Linked DNA regions of Homo sapiens: all the other regions are linked to region 1. The links are contacts of gene promoters, found by promoter capture Hi-C in blood cells and fetal thymus (Javierre and others, 2016). All regions are on one chromosome and are shown on one strand. The core of a region is centred on a gene start or on the middle of the fragment in contact, and the rest is flanking DNA. Distances in the headings are between cores, read along the strand shown. Region 1 holds the start of INIP (INTS3 and NABP interacting protein). Region 2 has its middle 23 kb from the start of PTBP3. Region 3 overlaps HSDL2 (hydroxysteroid dehydrogenase like 2). Region 4 overlaps HSDL2 (hydroxysteroid dehydrogenase like 2).

Evidence for each region. Contacts are between HindIII fragments. The CHiCAGO score rates a contact against its expected background, and 5 or more counts as called.
Region 2: a fragment that was not itself captured here is called in contact with the fragment with the promoter of INIP in region 1 in 2 of 17 cell types (fetal thymus and megakaryocytes); the score reaches 6.0 in fetal thymus.
Region 3: a fragment that was not itself captured here is called in contact with the fragment with the promoter of INIP in region 1 in 5 of 17 cell types (fetal thymus, endothelial precursors, total CD8 T cells and 2 more); the score reaches 7.9 in fetal thymus.
Region 4: a contact is called between a fragment that was not itself captured here and the fragment with the promoter of INIP in region 1, in 1 of 17 cell types (megakaryocytes). The highest score is 5.0, in megakaryocytes.

The regions. Positions count from the first base shown.
Region 1 is chr9:112,716,197-112,719,604 of GRCh38, forward strand. It overlaps INIP (INTS3 and NABP interacting protein), which reads right to left and starts at 1,921. Exons shown (of 5, transcript NM_021218.3): 1 at 1,791-1,921; 2 at 265-345. The coding sequence starts at 289. RefSeq lists an enhancer at 1,503-1,602 and a silencer at 1,973-2,132. The HindIII fragment of the contact is 2,113 bases long and covers 1,344-3,408 here.
Region 2 is chr9:112,355,026-112,358,433 of GRCh38, forward strand. It overlaps a transcript of PTBP3 not described here. Among named protein-coding and RNA genes, the nearest start is that of PTBP3, 23 kb to the left of the region's middle. The HindIII fragment of the contact is 4,467 bases long and covers 1-3,408 here.
Region 3 is chr9:112,386,468-112,389,875 of GRCh38, forward strand. All of the region lies in intron 1 of HSDL2 (hydroxysteroid dehydrogenase like 2), which reads left to right. Among named protein-coding and RNA genes, the nearest start is that of HSDL2, 8.1 kb to the left of the region's middle. The HindIII fragment of the contact is 1,431 bases long and covers 1,107-2,537 here.
Region 4 is chr9:112,403,779-112,407,186 of GRCh38, forward strand. HSDL2 (hydroxysteroid dehydrogenase like 2) reads left to right here. Exons shown (of 11, transcript NM_032303.5): 2 at 217-380; 3 at 1,846-1,944. Among named protein-coding and RNA genes, the nearest start is that of HSDL2, 25 kb to the left of the region's middle. The HindIII fragment of the contact is 3,724 bases long and covers 1-3,408 here.

The DNA of each region.
Region 1 (3,408 bases), core at 671-3,170:
CTAGTAGCTGGGATTACAGGTGCCCGCCACCATGCCCAGCTAATTTTTGTATTTTAGTAGAGACGGGGTTCCTGACCTCAAGCAGTCCACCCGACTTGGCCTCCCAAAGTACTGGGATTACAGGCGTGAGCCACCGCTCCCGGCCTGCTATTCATTTTTTAAATTCTGGCTACAGTAACTGCCCTATGCTAAATTTTCTCTTATTCAAATACATTTACTATATTGGGGAAATGTTCATAGTAAAGAAATTCCTGCTGTCATTACCTTGTCCTGAAGAGTTTGCTGCCATTTTCCTATTTTGTTTCAAGTATGTCCAGTGGCAATTGGTCAGCACTTCACAATCACCTATAAAATATGTGTACACACATATACAATGCACCATATTTTAATCACAAACTAAAAGGAACAGCTAGCCTCCTTACAATGAAATGTTTGCTGTTTCTTAATCTCTTCAGAAAGATACATTTGTGCCGGGCGCGGTGGCTCACGCCTGTAATCCCAGCACTTTGGGAGGCCGAGGCGGGCGGATCACGAGGTCAGCAGATCGAGACCATCCTGGCTAACATGGTGAAACCCAGTCTCTACTAAAAATAAAATTAAAAAAAAAAATCAGCCGGGTGTGGTGGCAAGCGCCTGCAGTCCCAGCTACTCGGGAGGGCGAGACGGGAGAATCACTTGAACCCGGGTGGCGGAGGTTGCAGTGAGCCGAGATCGCGCCACTGCACTCCAGTTTGGGCCACAGAGCGAGACAGCGAGACTCGGTCTCAAAAAAAAAAAAAAAGAAAAGAAAGAAAGATACATTTGAAATGTACACAGACTGAAACAAATGTAAACTCTGCTAGTGCCTCAAGCATTTAATTAAATACGGCATTGTTTATTCTTGCAGATGTTCATACCATTTAGCATTACTGTCTTTAATAAACGTCATTAGGTTGTATTTACCAAATATATCAACCAATTGATAGAGTCAATATAATCATGGTGCTAGGAAGAAAAATCATTCATCTATGGTGTCTCTGCATTCGTCTAAAACACATACCCAAAAACTACTGTGTACACTGAAAGCTAAAAAAGGTAAAGGAGTACTGTATCTGCTCTGCACCATACACTGTGTAACATGCTCGAAATTAGTTCCTTTATTTATTTATCACCATTTTATAGATGAGGAAACCGTACCCAGGGTCATAGAGCTAGTAGGAATTATTTGGGCTGCTGGTTTCCAAACTTCGTGCTTTCGTACTAAATCCTGGGGAGATCCAAGATGAGCAAGACCCTAATCCTGCTTTCAGAAGGGAAAATAAAGTCTTATTCAAGCAACCATACTATTAATTAAAAAAAAAAAAAGCTTAACAAACCCGCTCTTTAAAAGGTGGGCACAGTGCCGGAGGCAAAGAATTGATTTCATTGGCAGCAAAGAGTGATGCCTTAGTCTAGGGAGCCCGGGAAAGACACAAGGGATAGAAAACAGACACCGGTTTTTAGTAAATGAATCGTTAGGTGTCTCCAGCGGCTGAAACACAGAGCGAGCAATGCGGGGTTAGGACTGGAGGACAACAGGGCCATCTTGTGACAGGGTAGACTGGCGTGCCAGAAAGGTCCCTGCCTACGGATGTGCAGAGCCGGCTGGGCCCGGGCTGTGAACGAGACGAAGGAAGCAAGTAGGAGCCAGAAATGTTAGGTGGCAAGGTCGGAAGGGAGGTCGCTGCCTGTAGCAACAAAGACGGCGGCGACAGGTTAGCACCGGAGCCACACTTTTCTATTGCCCGGTGCCTCCAGACTGTCGTACTTACCTGGGACCCGAGGACACCGGGACCGCCTCTCCTTACAATCGCTGCTCTTAAAGGGGGCGCGACCACTTAGGCAAGAGGAGCTCAACTCGCGGCACTACAACCTTCCCGCCCCCGCTGCGCTTCCGCCTCCTGACTGACGTGCGCCCCAGGGAGCGGAAACCCCGCCTCCCGCCGGGACCCAACGGCCACCGCCCGTCGTGATTCGCACTTTAGCGGCCACCTCAGTGCAGACGTCACTTTTTTTTCCAAAGAGTGACAGTCGAAGAGGCTCACGGGAGATGCAAACGGTACTTTTGGGGGCTGGGCCAGGGTGGGGCGTGGCCCGGGGCGGGGGAGGGGCGGGGCTGCCAGGCAGGGGCGGGACGGAGAACACCTGGGTCCCTAGCACCAAGACTGGCTTTTTATTCATTGCCACCGCCTGGCCGGTCTTGCGACGGTGCGAGTCCACCTCGGCTGGGCCTCGGAGGAGGGGCGACTCTAGAAGCTAAACTCGCTTTCGAGCTTTAACAACCATCTCGGATTGCGCATCCGCACACACACACACACACACACACACACACACACAAATTCAGGAATATTTTTTGTCTACAGTTTACATAATTATACACAATGAAAGCACTGAATATGGAGGATTTTTATTACAGTGCAATAATCTGCATTTAAGAAGTGGATGTGCCACATCGCAGAACACCAAGTTGCCACTAGTGGGATCACCTGCTGCCCACCTGATTCCAGCACAGTAGATAGCTACACATTTGAATTAAAAGGTAATCGTATATTGACATGTGTTCAAATTGCACTCTTTTTAATTTAAAAAAATATTTTTTATGGTGACAGTGTCTCGCTTTGTTGCCCAGGCTGGTCTTGAACTCCTGGCCTCAAGGGATCTGCCCACCTCAGCCTCCCAAAGTGCTGGGATTACAGGCGTGAGCCACCTGCCCTGCTTAAAATTGCAGTGTCTTAATCTCTTCCGAAAGATACATTTGAAAAACGCACAGACTTAAATCACAAATGTAAGCTCCCCAAGCGCCTCAAGCATTTAATTAAATAGAATGGATAATGAATTTGAACATATGTTTTTAATAATTGATGTTTGCTCAAGAGTAAAATGTTTATGATGCACAATTTTCTTGTGCATGGATCAATGACTGAAATAATCGTTTCAATATCAAGTATTTATTTACTGAAAACCAAGCATGTATTTACTCTATACCAAGCAGCTATTGAGTGCCTTCTACAATGCGAGGTGCTTCCTGTGCATCAGCTCTGGTCCTGCTGTTCCCTGATTTATATTTGAGACTCATGTTTCTTGCTCTATGTCAAGTAGCGAGCTAAGATTCAAATTTAAAGATCTGCCAGATGCTAAGGCCTGAGTTCTTAAATCTCACACATTGCCTCTGCTCTGGAGGAATGAATTCCTCTGAGACCAGTTCTTGCTGACTTGACTTTAATCCAGATATAAAGCCTAACACATGAGCATTTTGATGGTAGGCCAGGAGTCCTTTCAGTTAAGAGGACTTGGTGAGTTCTAGTATGACTAAAAAGATGACTGAGATCTATATGGCTGATAGAACCTTAGAATTTTTTTTTGTTTTGTGGCCTAGCTAATATAGAAACT
Region 2 (3,408 bases), core at 644-3,143, 360 kb before region 1:
TGGGCACCAGGAGGAATTAGGTGGAAATATCTCCAAGGGAACTGAACTTGGACTACCCACACCCACCGTGGATTTTCTTGCTAGAGCCATATTTTAAATCAAATGAATAATTCAGACCTGAGAAAATGCTTGGCTTGGGAAAAGAGGATGGATCCTGGTATGAGACCAACCCCTGTGAGTGGGGCCTGGAATCTACTGAAAGGAGGAGGGAGATATTAAAGGAAATGTTGAAGAAGGAAATTTGAACAACATCAATGCTCTGAGAAAGAAATGCAGATGTGAAGACAAGGGGCAATAGTAGGGATCCAGGTGTGCTCAAGGCCTTTGCGATGGTTTATATTCTTGTGATAATTTTATCTTCAGACTGAGTATCATTTAAGAGTTAGGTCCAGCTGCATACAACAGAAAACTCAGTAACAAGATAAACTAGATACAAATGTATTTCTCATGCAAAGGAAGTTCAGAAGTAGTGGTTTCAGGGCTGATATGACACTCCATTTCATGTTCATCAAAGACCCGTCTTCTTTTGTTTCCATTACATAAGCATATGGCTTTCATCATTCTTAAGATTACAAAATGGCTAAGAACTCTTTTTCTTTTTTTTTTTTTTTTTTTTGTGGAGGGTGGGTGTTGGGGAGTTGCCCAAGCTGGAGTGCAGTGGCGTGATCACAGCTCACTGCAGGCTTGACCTCCTGGGTTCAAGCAATCCTCAGCCTCCTGAGTAGTTGTGATTACAGGCATGCGCCACCGCGCCTGGCTAATTTTTGTATTTTTTTGTAGAGACAGGGTTTCGCGTTGGCCAGGCAGTCTCAAACTCCTGGACTCAAGCCATCTATCCGGCTTGGGCTCACAAAGTGCTGGGAATACAGGCAGGAGCCACCACACCCCACCTGGAAATAAAAGTTTCTTTCTTTTCTTTTCTTTCTTTCTTTCTCTTTCTCTTTCTCCTTCCTTCCTTCTTTCTTTCTCTTTCTTTTCTTTCCTTCCTTCTTTCCTTCTTCTTTTCCTTCTTCCTTTCTTCCTCCCTCCCTTTCTCTCTCTCTCTCTCTTAGATGGATTCTCCTGCCTCAGCCTCCCAAGTAGCTGGGATTACAGGCGCACACCACCACACCAAGCTAATTTTTTGTATTTTTAGTAGAAACAGGATTTCACCATGTCGACCAGGCCAGTCTAGAACTCCTAACCTCAGGTGATCCACCCGCCTCGGCGTCCCAAAGTACTGAGATTACAGGTGTGAGCCACAGTACCGGACTGGAAACTCTTTAAAGCAGCTTTCCCAGAAGTCCTTCCCAGCATCTTCCACATACGTCTCATAAGCCGTAATTTGGTCATGTGGCCATCCCTGGCTGTAAAAGTGGCTGGGAGGTGCAGTGTTTTTGCTGGTTATATTGTCACCTCTAAAAATAATGTTGGTAAGAAGTAGTGGGTAAGCCACTAGCAGTCTGTGTGACATAGCAGTTGTCATATAGTTAAGATTTTTTTCTCTTATGCAATAATTCCACAACTCTTTGGTGAAGAGTTGTGTGGGGCTGGTGTGGTACATAAAGCAACAGAGCAAAAAAAAAAAATGGTGAAATACAGCTTGATCCATGTAGTCACTCCGCTGCTTGTGCTCATATAAGGGAGCAATTGTCTACTGAGGGAATTGTTTTCTAGAATTCCAGGTATCTAGCTCCAAGTTGAGGAAAACCCACAGTGTACTTTGGAGCAGTGGGATTGTCAGAGATATAAGGGAAAGACTCAAGAGGCTTTTGAGACAATTGCGTGTGCGCACACACACACACACACACACACACACAATTTGGCCCCAACCATTTCATTTCAGAGCAGGTGTATATTCATTTCCCTCTTTTTTTTTTTTTTTTTTTTTTGAGACAGAGTTTCACTCTTGTTGCCCAGGCTGGAGTGCAATGGCGTGATCTCAACTCACTGCAACCTCCACCTCCCAGGTTCAAGCGATTCTCCTGCCTCAGTCTCCCGAGTAACTGGGATTATAGGCACCCGCCACCACACCCGGCTAATTTTTTTGTATTTTTAGTAGAGACGGGGTTTCACCATGTTGGTCAGGCTGGTCTCGAACTCCTGATCTCAGGTGATCCGCCCACCTCAGCCTCCCAAAGTGTTGAGATTACAGGCATGAGCCACCGCACCCGGCCTCCCTCTACCTTTTAATACTTCATACTAAGACGTGGAAATTCTCTTGCATAACCCAGCAGAGTTGTCAAATCAGGAAATTCATTACTGATACAATACTTTAATCTCTACTGCATATTCCAATTTGTTAATTTCCAGTAGTGTTCTTTTTGTGTTGTTGTTGTTGTTGTTTTGTTTGTTTGTTTTTTCTGAGCAGGGTCTTGCTCTGTCATCCAGGCTGGTGTGCAGTGGTGCAATCACAGCTCACTGCAGCCTCGACCTTCCTGGGCTCAGTTGATCCTCTTACCTCAGCCTCCTGAATAGCTGAGACTACGCGCAGGCAGCCATGCTTACTAATTTTTGTATTTTTTATAGAGACAGGGTTTTATCATGTTGCCCAGGCCGGTCTTAAACTCCTGGGTTCAAGCAATCTGCTAGACTCAGCTTCCCAAAGTGTTGGGATTACAGGTGTGAACCACTGCACCCAGCCTGCCAATAGTGTTCTTTATAGCAATTTTTTTTTTCTATACAGGAACCAGTTCAGGATTATGTGTTGCGTTGAATTGTCATTTCTTCTTTATTGCAGCTTCTTAGACTTTCTTTCTATTTTTTTATGACATCGACATTTTTGACTTCTTATTCACCTTGGAGAAGGTGTAAACAACTGGAGCAATTTTGCCTCCAGAGGACATTTGGCAATTTCCAGAGACATTTTTGGTTGACAAAACTGGAAGAGTTGGAGATAGATGGGGTGATGGTTGCACAACAATGTAAATGTACTTAATGCCGTTGAACTGTACACTTCAATATAGTTAAAATGGTAAATTTTATGTTAGGTATGTTTTACAAAAATAAACAAAAAAATTTGGCCAGGCGCGGTGGCTCATGCCTGTAATCCCAGCATTTTAGAAGGCCAAGGCAGGTGGATCATCTGAGGTCGGGAGTTCAAGACCAGGCTGGCCAACGTGATGATACCCTGTCTCTACTAAAAAAAATAAAAAATTAGCTGGGCGTGGTGGCAGGTGCCTTTAATCCCAACTACCCAGGAGGCTGAGGCAGGAGAATTGCTTGAACGTGGGAGGCAGAGGTTGCAGTGAGTAGATACCATGCCACTGTCCTCTAACCTGGGAGACAGTGAGACTCTGTCTCAAAAAAACAAAAACAAACTGGAAGGAGGGTGCCACTGATGCTACTGGCATGTAGTGGGTACAGACCAAGAATGCTGCTAAACATACTCTAATGCACATGACAGCCTCCCACAAAAAATGATTATCC
Region 3 (3,408 bases), core at 572-3,071, 330 kb before region 1:
TATATAAAAGTCAACAAATAAAAATAATTTTGAGCTTGGCATGGTGGCTCATGCCTGTAATCCCAGCATTTTGAGAGGCCAAGGTGGGAGAATCGCTTGAGCCCAGGAGTTCAAGACCACCCTGGGCAGCACAGTAAGACTCTGTCTCTACCAAAAAAAAATAAAAATTAACCAAGCGTGGTGATGCACACCCGTGATCCTAGCTATTCAGGAGGCTTAGTGGGAGGATTAGTTGAGCTGGGAAGGTCAAGTCTCCAGTAATCTGTGATTGTGCCATTGCACACCAGCCTGGGCGACAAAGGGAGACTCTCTCAAAAAATAATAGTAAGTTAGATTTCTACACGAGCAAAAATCTGCAAGAAGTATATAGTACATGTCAATAAAAATGAGAAGTTCAAAATCCCAGATATGGACTCCACTACAGGACATATGATGTATATTCTTCAGCAAATAAATGGCATAAAGAGTGGAAGGGAAGCTGGCAGTGATTAAAAGAGAAACTCTTAAGGTATAACAGCCAGATGTAATGTGAGGTCCTTATTGGATCCTGATTTGATCAGGCCAACCATAAGAAAAACTGAGATAGTTATAAAAGTTTGAACATAGACAGATATTGAGTGATATTGAGAAATTATTGTTAATTTTCTTGGGTATAATAATGACATTGGTATTTTAAAAGTTTTTATCTGTTAGAAAAGTAAATACTGAAGTATTCATAGGTGAAAGTATATAACCTCTGGGATTTGGTTTCTTTTCTTTTTTTTTTTTTTGAAACAGGGTCTCACTCTGTGGTTCAGGCTGGAGTGCAGTGGTGTGAAATCAGCTCACTGCAACCTCCGTGTCATGGGCTCAGGTGATCCTCCAACCTCAGCTTCCTGAGTAGCTGGGACTATGGGTGCGTACCACATGCCTGGCTAATTTTTGTATTTTTTAGTAGAGATGGGGTTTCTCTATGTTGCCCAGGCTGGTCTCAAACTCCAGGGCTAAAGCGTTCTGCCCACCTCTGCCTCCCAAAGTGCTGAGATTATAGGCATGAGCCACCATGCCTACCTAGGATTTGTTTTCTGATGATTGCTTTCACAATTTAGTAGTTGAATAAACATGGAAGCTTATTATACTCTTTTCTGGTTTTTTAAATGTATTTGAAAATTCCATAATAAAAAGAGTCTTCGTTTTTGCACTGATTGTTTATTGGTTGCAAGGGAAGGAATAGTAACTGTGCAGTGGAGAAATATGGTAACACTATGGTTAGATGATAAAAATTGACATTATAAAGTGAGTACGGATGGACGTTGTATGCTGCCCTATGGGATATACTGAGGAAAATACAGTATCACATGTTCTGGTTGGAAATGCATAACCGGAATCTAATCATGAAGAAATATCAGTTGAATCCAAAATGAGCATTCAGCCAGGGGTGGTGGCTCATGCTTGTAATCCCAGCACTTTGCAAGACCAAGGCAGGAGAATCGCTTGAGCCCAAGCATTCAAGACCAGGCTGGCCAACATGGTGAGACCCTGTCTCCACAAAAAATAAAAAAATTAGCTGGGCTTGATGATGTGTGCCTGTAGTCCCAGCTACTCAGGAGGCTGAGGTGGGAGATTTGCTTGAGTCCAGGAGGTCAAGGCTGCAGTGAGCTGTGATTGCACCACTGTACTTCAGCCTGGGTGACAGGGCAAGAGCCTGTCTCAGAAAAAAACAAACAAAAAAAAACCCAGGCACAGTGGCTCATGCCTGTAACCCCAGCACTTTGGGAGGCCGAGGCGGGCAGATCACGAGGTCAGGAGTTCAAGACCAGCCTGACCAACATGGTGAAATCCCGTCTCTACTAAAAATAGAAAAATTAGCTGGGCGTTGTGGTGCGTGCCTGTAATCCCAGCTACTCGGGAGGCTGACGCAGGAGAATCACTTGAACGTGGGAGGCAGAGGTTGTAGTGAGCCGAGATCGCGCCACTGCACTCCAGCCTGGGAGACAGAGCTAGACTCCATCTCAAAAAAAAAAAAAAAAAAAATACGCCAGGTGTGGTGGCTTACACCTGTAATCCTAGCACTTTGGGAACCTAGGTGGGTGGATCACAAGGTCAGGAGTCCAAGACCATGGTGAAACCCTGTCACTGCTAAAAATACAAAAAAAAATTAGCCAGGTGTGGTGGTGCATGCCTGTAATCCCAGCTACTCAGGAGGCTGAGGCAGGAGAATTGCTTGAACCTGGGAGGTGGAGGTTGCAGTGAGCTGAGATAGTGCCACTGCACTCTAACCTGGGCGACTGAGTGTGACTCCATCTTGGAAAAAAAAAAGTAAGGATCATTATATTTTTTAAAAAAGGAGTGCAGACTGTATTTTTCAAAAGGTCAATATCATAAAAGACAGAAGAGGCTGCAAAAATGTTCTAGATTAACGGAGACTAAAGAGATATGTCAATTAAAAGCACTACCCTAAACCGGGTCCTGTAGTGGAAGGAAAAAATGCTCTAAAGGGCATTATTGAGTCAATTGACAAAATTAAAATACTGTGAAAGTAGATACATGAGAGACCAAGCTTTGATGTATTCAGATCACTTTTTTTTTTTTTCTTTTTGAGACAGGGTCAGTCTCTGTTTCCCAGGCTAGAGTACAGTGGTGTAATCATGGCTCACTGCAGCCTCAACCTTTGGGATCAAACAGTCTTCCTGACTGAGCCTCCCGAGTAGCTGGGACTACAGGCACACACTGCCACACATGGCTAATTTTTTAATTTTGTAGAGACAGGGTCTCACTATGTTGCCCTGGCTGGTTTCGACTTCTGGGCTCAAGTGATCCCCGTCTTGGTCTCCCAAATTGCTGGGATTATAGGCATGAGCCACTGCACCTGGCCTCAAATCACTCTTAAGTGGTTTGGAGAAAATAAGATATAGAGAAGGAGAAAGGGAGAAGGAGAGAAAATGAGCACAAATGCTAAATCATTGGGGTAAAATATTAACAATACATGAATCTGGGTGAAGGATATGTGAATATTTTTTTTGTACTATTATTCTTGCAACTTTAAATTTGAATTATTTACAAATAAAAAGTTGGAAAAAGTTAAAAACAATGGAGTACCTAGGAATAAAGCCAACAAAAGATGTATAATACCTTTCTGTAGGAAATTATATCATAATGAAATACATTAGAAAGACCTAAATAAATGGAATTATACCATGTTCATGGATTAGAACACTCACTGTCACAAAAATGTCAATTCTTTCCACTTTGAATTATAGACTTAATGTAATTTCTGTCAAAATCTCAACTGATTTCACTTGACCAGTTAGATAATGAGATTCTAAAATATATGTGGGCCGGGCGTGGTGGCTTATGCCTGTAATCCCAGCACTTTGGGAAGCCGAGGCCGGTGGATCACTTGAGCTCAGGTATTCCAGACCAGCCTAG
Region 4 (3,408 bases), core at 491-2,990, 310 kb before region 1:
CAAGACTGGCCAACTGCAGTTGTCATAAATAATTTATCAGTCATTGTGCAATGGGAGTATAGTGGAGTTATCTGCCATCAGATGGGCATGGGGAGGGTTTAGAGAAAATTTCACAGAGGAGGAAACATATATTATGAAAATATGCATGAGGTTCTGATACCTGTCAGTAAATAAAACATTGGGTCTTCTAATAAGGTCGTATTTGTTCTGTTGTAGGAGGCTGGCAGGATGTACAGTTTTTATCACAGGTGCAAGCCGTGGCATTGGCAAAGCTATTGCATTGAAAGCAGCAAAGGATGGAGCAAATATTGTTATTGCTGCAAAGACCGCCCAGCCACATCCAAAACTTCTAGGCACAATCTATACTGCTGCTGAAGAAAGTGAGTGTGACAGTGCCATTTGATAAAATGTCTTTCTAGTGGTTTCAATACATAGAGAATTTGCTGGAGAGTTTAGTTAAAGCTATTTGAAAGCTACCCTGAACATAATTTTATCTAGTGAAAGAAGTATTTATGTTGTCACCTTGGGGCAGTGCTTCTGACCGTTTTTCTCCACCAGCACTTTTAAGCAATGTGAGAAACTCCAGTTAAAAATCTTATTTCATGGCGGGGCGTGGTGACTCACACCTGTAATTTCACCCAGCTACTCGGGAGGCTGAGGCAGGAGAATCACTTGAACCTGGGAGGTGGAGGTTGCAGTGAGCCAAGATCATGCCACAGCACTCCAGCTTGGGTGACAGAGCGAGACTCCATCTCTTAAAAAAAAAAAAATCTTGGTTCTTGAGGGCAGTGGTTCTTGGATGGGAGGGGGAGTAGGGAAGTGGAGTAGAGAGGAGAGAATTTGATTGGTGAGTGGCATGAACTCTTTGAGAAAGCGTTCTGTGTTATTTATTCTCTGTACAATTTGCAAGTCATCATTTTAATACTTTTAGTTGACAAATAATTATCACATACTTCTATTTAAGGCATAGCGCTAGGCACAGAGCCAGGAGAGAGGGCTTAAAAATTCAAGTTCAGTTGACATTGCTAGTTTTGTTAATCATGTTCAGAGCACTGTGGTTATGTTAGAGGAATGCATGTGAAGTGTTTATGAGTGAAATGATGTCAGGGATTTGCTTTAAAACACACCAGCAAAAAATAAAACAGGGGACAGGAAAGATAAACATATTAACTGACAAAACTAACAATCGTTGAAGATAGGTGATGGATTCCTGTTAGTTTATTACAGCATCTTTACATTTTTATATAGTTTAGAATATTTCCACAATAAAAAGTTTTTAAAAATTACTTTCAACTGGGTGAGGTGGCTCAAGCCTGTAATCCCAGCACTTTGGGAGGCCAAGGCGGGTGGATCACTTGAGGTCAGGAGTGCGAGACCAGCCTGACCAACATGGCAAAACCGTGTCTCTACAAAAAATAGAAAAATTAGCCTGGCGTGGTGGTGCATGCCTATAGTCCCAGCTACTTGGGAAGCTGAGGTGGGAGGATCCTTTGAGCCTGGGAGATTGAGGCTGCAGTGAGCTGTGTTTGTGCCACTTCACCCAAGCCTGGGCAAGAGAGTGAGACCCTGTCTGAAAAACAAAAACAAACAAACAAAAAACTTCCTTTTTTTAGCTTTTTAAAAAAATTACAAAGAAACCCCCACCAAACCTTCGTTTTTGTTTTTTAATAGTGTTAGCCTAGCTAGTCTGTCCTGCTATATGGTAGAGTCACTGGTGGTAAGATAGAGTTATTTATATTGATTTTCTGAAAACAGGGTACTTTTTTCTTTTGACTGTGATATTGGAATTAAAGGTATAATATTTAAATGCTTTAACGCTTTTTCATTTTGTATCCTTTATATAAGTTGAAGCAGTTGGAGGAAAGGCCTTGCCATGTATTGTTGATGTGAGAGATGAACAGCAGATCAGTGCTGCAGTGGAGAAAGCCATCAAGAAATTTGGAGGTAATACCTTCATTCTGAAAAAATTATTGGATATTGGTAAAATAAAGGTATAACTATAATGTTAATTTAAAAATTTGTTTTGAGTTTTGAATTTTCTGAGTCTTTGGAGAAATACGTATTTGCTCACACAGAACATGATTTAAAACCATCTGATAAGGCTGGGCGTGGTGGCTCACACCTGTAATCCCAGCACTTTGGGAGGCCGAGGCAGGCAGATCACTTGAGGTCAGGAGTTTAAGACCAGCCTGGCCAACATGGTGAAACCCCGTCTCTACTAAAAATACAAAAATTAGCTGAACATGGTGGTGGATGCCTGTAATCCCAGCTACTCAGGAGGCTGAGGTGGAAGAATTGCTTGAACCTGGGAGGTGGAGGTTGCAGTGAGCTGAGATTGCACCACTGCATTCCAGCCTGGGTGACAGAGCAAGACTCTGTCTCAAAAAGAAAAAAAAAAAAAAGAAAAAGAGTGTGGAATGATAGACTGTGGAGACTGGGAAGAAAGAAGGGATGCAAGGGGGGTAGATGAAGAGAAATTACTTAATCGGTACAATGTTTGCTGTTTGGGTGATGGATACCCTAAAAGTCCTGGACACTGCACAATCTATGTATGTGAGAAAATTGCACTTGTGCCTTATATATTTGTTTTTGAAAAAATTCTTCCTTTATGTGGTTAAATTTCATCTTCTTCACAAAGTCAGTTCCCTCACCATGCCAACTAATCAGAATTATATTTTTCTTTCTCTGATTTCTTTTTTCTTTTTTTTTGAGACTGAGTCTTGCTCTTGTCACCCAGGCTGGAGTGCAGTGGCGCAATCTCGGCTCACTGCAACCTCTGCCTCCTGGGTTCAAGCGATTCTCCTGCCTCAGCCTCCCGAGTAGCTGGGATTACAGGCGCCTGCCACCATGCCCAGCTAATTTTTGTATATTTAGTAGAGACAGGTTTCGCCACATTGGCCAGGCTGGTCTCGAACTCCTGACTTCATGATCCACCCAACTCAGCCTCCCAAAGTGCTGGGATTACAGGCGTGAGCCACCGTGCCCGGCCTCTCTGATTTCTTAAAACATTCATTTGATCCTTATCTTGTACTATTTTAGATCTTAGTATTTCTTTTCTCCCCAATTAGTTCAAAAGTTCCTAGAAAAAAGGTGTTGGGGATTGAGCTAAGGCTTTCATGGTATTATAGTAGGGCACCTAGGCATGTCCAAATCCTGCCTAAACCATTACCACTCTCCCCGCTAATGTTCTGGAGGACCATATGTACATGTGAGGGACAATGGCCAGTGGAAAATGAGGGAATGCTTCAGTGTTAGCAAGGCTGTACTTATAATCCCAATGCAGAGTGCTGTGGGGTGCTGGACTGAAGCACGGAGCTTTGGCTCAAGTGGAGCCTCTTCCCTTAAATCCAAAATCTTACCCCTAGCCGGCAGCCTTTCCCAAAGAAATGTGAATGCCTGTGTCAGAAG